Regions from separate parts of the Homo sapiens genome. Here region 1 is linked to region 2. The links are contacts of gene promoters, found by promoter capture Hi-C in human tissues and cell types (Jung and others, 2019). All regions are on one chromosome and are shown on one strand. The core of a region is centred on a gene start or on the middle of the fragment in contact, and the rest is flanking DNA. Distances in the headings are between cores, read along the strand shown. Region 1 has its middle 320 kb from the start of ANO3-AS1. Region 2 holds the start of LUZP2 (leucine zipper protein 2).

Region 1 (2,700 bases), core at 181-2,680, 1.5 Mb after region 2:
TGAGGAAGTTGGGAGAAAGGAGATCGAATCAGGCAGGGATGAACACGGCATTACAGGCATCCAGAAATAGTAGAAGTCAGTGAGCATCACTGTTATTTCAGCTGATTTTTAAACTCAGGAAGAGATAGAAAATAAAGGAGAGGATATTCTATTTTCCCTAAGGAAGAGGACTAAAAATGTGTTAGATAAGTTTTCTCAAGTGCTCAGGGAAGCAAATGGATGTTGAATAATGAACCCAACCCCTAATAATAAACTTAAATACTAATCTATAAAAATAAGGACATATCTGGCACTACAGATGATCAAAATTATGGGGAGAAAGCAGGTAAGGAATCCTGCCCCTTGTGGCTAAATAGGCATACAGTGAAACTCCCAGTTAGGTAGATCTTTTGGTATCAAAGCCCCCAGGTGGAGGGGAGGAGGATCATGATATACATTCTACATTTATCATGTTTGATTCAGAAAGAAAATGGCTCAGTGTATAAAAGTTATACCCAGTGGTAAACTTAGCCATGAGATACTTGAACAAAGTGAGAGACAGAGAGAGACAAATTCCTTGTCAATGTCTGGACCAAGAGTATAGGATCAAAAATTAGTTGGGTAGTTATAGATAACTTGAGTACAATAATGTATCATTATTCATGAGAGAACATTTTGTTTTTAGGTTTTGTTTTTTGTTTGTATATTTTGTATTAAATATGTATATAAAACATATTATATTAAATGTATATAAAACATGCAGATATGTTCACATGTCCTAATGCAGAATAAATGGCCAGTACTTCCAAGTTCACTTTTCTCATATATAAAATAAGTCTAACTGTAAAGGGAATATCTAAGTACTTACTATGATGGGGGCTAAAATTCACAGCATACATGTGGCCATTGGTAAAATGAGAGAATATGAATTTCGTAAGAAAAGTCATAGCTGTCATGACAATAAATATGATCCCTTCATAGAATACCTTTAAGGATAGGGTAAACTCATTGAAAAATATAAAGTCATTTATGTGTACACAGAAGTGGACCATGGTAGAACCATTTCCTCCTTCATTCACTTAGCTTTTTAATTAGTTTTTATTTTTTTGCTCATCATATATTTATCATTTTGTACTCTGTTTCCTGATAAACACTGAAGGCACTAAAATAATGAAGACATTTTTCCCTCAAAGAGTTTGTGGTTCCAAATGAACTCATCAACTATAATGTATTTAATGTATTATAGCATCATTGTTAAATCTCAGAAGTGTCAACAACCCTAATATTGGTGTAAAATAGAGAGATAGGTTCCACTGATATACTATTACTACCAGCAAATGAGCAGATGAACTTAATTGTTTGGTTGGGCTTGTAAACCAAAAAGAATCTGAGACAAGTGCCAATCAATTTAGAAGCTTATTTTGCCAAAGTTACAGACATGCCCATGGCACAACCTCAGAAAGTCCTGACAACATGTGCCCAAGGTGGTCAGGCTACAGCCTGGATTTATGACATCAATCAACATATGTAAAATGTTTGGTCCAGAAAGGCAGGATGGGGGTGGGGGAAGCAGGGGAGGCTCTTCGGGTCATAGGTAGATTCAATGATATTTTCTGATTGGCAATTGGTTGAAAGAGTTTATCTAAAGATACAGGGATGTGGAGACCACAGTTCTCATTATACAGATGAAGTCTCCAGGTAGTAAGCTTCAGAGAGAATAGATAATAAACATTTCTTATCAGACTTAAAGAGTCTGTTCTGTCGGTCCTAAGGTCTCTGTTTGAATGTTAATTTTGGTCAGCTGTGCCTGAATTCCAATGGGAGGAAGGTTTAATGAGGCATGTCTGACCACCCATTTCCATCATTGCCTAAACTCGTATTTCAGGTTTACTTTAGAATGCCCTTGGCCAAGAAGAGGGATCTATTCAGTTGGTTGAAGGACTTAGAATTATTATTATTATTATTATTATTATTATTATTATTATTTTGGTTTACAGGATGATGCTCTCAAGCTTCTATTGTGTTGAAACTGCCATTGCAAAATTATAACCGACTTAGAAAGATCTGGCTTAACCAGCTCCATCTTGCATTAAACCCTCAAGCTGTGCTTGTTTATTCCTGGGCTTAGGCCTAACTAACTTTAAGAGGAAATTAGTTTATAATTTAGCTTTGAAACAAAAATGATAACCGCCCTTTTCCAAAACAAATCTCCTTCCTGCCTGGGGCCTAGACTGCCTTTGCAGGACTAACAAATTAGCCACAAGATTAGAATTTATGGTTTAGGAGTCATGCAGCTGGAGGGTGCAAGATTTTAAATCTCCCCAAATTGCTTCTGGGGGATAACATTACTATGGTAAAACCTAAGATTAGTGTTTGAGATATTTTGCAGACCCTGCACTCAGTAGATGAGCTGGCATCACTCAGATCAATAACCTGGCTCATCTGTTCTTGGGGTTCCGACCCAGGAACTGACTCAGCACAAGAGGACAGTTTCAACTTCCTATGATTTCACCTCTGACCCAGCGAATCAGCACTCCCAACTCAATGGCCCCTTACCTACCAAATTATCCTTAAAATCTCTGACTCCTGATTTTTCACGGAGACTGATTTGAGTAATACTAAAACTCCAGTCTCCCACATAGCTAGCTTTGTGTGAATTACTCTTTCTCTATTGCAATTCCCCTGTCTTGATAAATCAGCTCTGTCTAGGCAGTGGGCAAG
Region 2 (2,700 bases), core at 114-2,613:
TATCTTTCGGGACTTTGGTGCACCTCACCCTTTACTGAACACAACTTTGTGTCAAACACTGGGCTAGGAGTGCTAGTTGTGATGTTTGAGGCAACAGTGGAATTTTTCTTAGGACTTAGTAGAACCAGTTCTTTTTTTTAATATGCATAGTCAGATTTTGATGATATTCAGTCTGCTCATATCTATAATAGTGATATTAACGTCTATTTCACTAGGATGGCTCTTGTGAAGATTAAATTAAATACTGTATGAAGAAGTGCCTTATACACAGTTATATAACCAGGATAATATCCAGATGGAATTCTCATTCTCTCTCTCTCTCTCTCTCTCACTCTCACTCACACACACACACACACACACACACACACACACACACATGCAATATCATCTTATAAATATCCTAGAATTGAATATCTCAGTAGCAGAGATAGTAGTTCTGTTTCTCAGAATTGCTTTTGCAAAATGGTGTTTTGGATTATAATTGTGCTATTTAATTTTTCTAATTAAAATTTCTAAATAGAGCCTATTAAATATTGGATGCTTATGATAGAACATTTGAAAATATAGAAAACCAAATGACCTACAAAACCTCTACCTTCCAGTACCATCATTCCGAGCTGATTACTGTTAACATTTTAATGGTTTTTGTCCGCTAGGTCTCCTTGATGAGTTTCACCTGAGGAAAAGGACTCCTTCAGGTGTGTGAACTTGAGCCACCAGGTCCAACCCCATTGGCAGGTGCTGGTACAGACGACTGAAATCAGAGGAAGATCAGAAATCTTCAAAACCCAGAGCAGCAGATGTCTTAACGGTCCCGAAACGTTCTTTGGTTCTTTGCAGTCAACATTCACGGGTTAAGAAGATTGCAATGCCATGACGGGCTGAGGTTGCATTTCTGGACGCTGCTTACTCCCGCTTCCTTCCATCTGTTTCAGGCAAATCATTATGCAGTTCTAATTAGAACAATCTTCTAAACACTCTCTCCAGAGCGACGTTCTTCCAAACACGGTTTAAGCGGCGAGAGACACCTGCCTAGGACCCTACGCGTCTGGAAGTCTCTCCCAGTGAATTGGGTCTCATCTCCTGCCGAGTACGCAAGTTCAATTATCGGCAGATTAGGTTTCTACTCTCCGTGCCCCGCCCCGCGCCATCCTGGGGAGCAGCGGGAATAAATGATCCGCCCCTGGCCAGTGCTCACCCGACTGACCAGAGCGCAGCCCGGTGACCGAAGCGCACGGGGCGATCGCGAGGCGCCCCCTCCCTCTCCCCGCGCCGCCTCCAGCGCGAGTGACGGCGCGCCCTCCGGGCTCCGGAGCGGCGGCGCCGAACAATCCCCGGCAGGGCTCGCCTCGCCGGTGACATCACTCCTGAAGATACTCCTCGCTCCCAGCGCCTGCCTTCCCCAGGCGTCCGTTCGTGTGCCCGTCTCCGCCTTTCCGCCTCGGAAGAGCGCTCATCACTGGCTGGGGACAGAGCCGGGCACCAAGGAGCGACAGGATCCCGAAGAGAGAGAGAGAAGGCAGCGAGGGAAGGAGGACCCCGGCAGGCAGCAGCATGAAATTCAGCCCAGCGCACTACCTGCTGCCTCTCCTGCCTGCGCTGGTCCTCAGCACCAGGTGAGTCCAGGAGCGTGAGTGACCTGAGGCCAGGGGCGCTGCCGGGGCGAGGTTGGTCCTACTGTGGGTCACCAGTGGGGGCCAAGGCACTTCAGCTGTTTGCATCTCCCGCCTAAGCAAGAGGGACGCTGTATGGTTTGGGCTCTGAAATCCTTCTGAGAGAGCAGAGCCCTTTCCTAGTTATCCCAGCCCCCTGGAGAAAGTCTTAGGATTGCTCTCAGTGAGGGATCAAAAGCTTTCTCTTCCGAAGGAGAGAAAAGACATTTTACCCTCCGGTCCTATTAGTAGCCAAAAGGTAACACGCGGTAAAAGAACAAAATAAAGAACGGAAATAGGCAAGGAGGGAATTGCCACCAGGCAGTGTCTTTACATTGGAGTTGTCTTAATAACCATAGAGCTTCTCCCTTCCCCCAAGTGTGCCTGATTTAAGGAAGAGGAAACCAGAGAAAACAGATTAATCCTGGAAGATGCTAAGACTTGTACAAAAGTTCCTGGACTCCTGAAATGGCATGTTTCAACGTCTTGGATAAGCTTAGTGATAGGCGTTTTCTTTTGACTGTCTTGTGAACAGGTCTAATTAAAGAGCACAGAAGGCGATTAAAAGTTAGAAGACACTCTCAGAGTGCTGATGCAGAGACCCTAGTCAGAAACAATTAAGTACTGTACTCCATCACTGGCCATGGATGGGACTTTAAGCCCCATTACAGAGGAGCTATTTTTGGTGGAGATTTAAAATGCAGAGATTGAGAAGAGTTTTGTGACTCCCCACTGTTGATCAAGTCCCAAAGTTGTGATGGGTTTGCTTTTTTCTTCCACAAGCGCAGCACAAAGGTGGACTGTTTAGTTGCCCAGGACTGTCTTTATTCTGCATGCCCTTAGCATCATATTGGCAGCAACCTCTTTCCCTTGGCTACTATAAAATAAAATAACCCACACAGGATGAAGATCCTTTCAAGTCTACGTGAATAGAAACATTATTTGATTGTGCATCTGATGGCAAATAAAGTAGGGATATAGGGTTGTTTCTAATTCTGAAATGGAAAAGGATGAAGAAAACTTACTCTGTCTTACAAATCAAGGCTGT

What was found. Contacts are between HindIII fragments. The study calls those that stand out against the background at their distance.
Region 1: a contact is called between a fragment that was not itself captured here and the fragment with the promoter of LUZP2 in region 2, in 1 of the 25 tissues and cell types used here (mesenchymal stem cells).

What each region holds. Positions count from the first base shown.
Region 1 is chr11:25,970,951-25,973,650 of GRCh38, forward strand. No RefSeq gene overlaps it. Among named protein-coding and RNA genes, the nearest start is that of ANO3-AS1, 320 kb to the right of the region's middle. The HindIII fragment of the contact is 3,641 bases long and covers 1-2,700 here.
Region 2 is chr11:24,495,690-24,498,389 of GRCh38, forward strand. LUZP2 (leucine zipper protein 2) reads left to right here and starts at 1,364. Exons shown (of 12, transcript NM_001009909.4): 1 at 1,364-1,616. The coding sequence starts at 1,555. The HindIII fragment of the contact is 10,753 bases long and covers 1-2,700 here.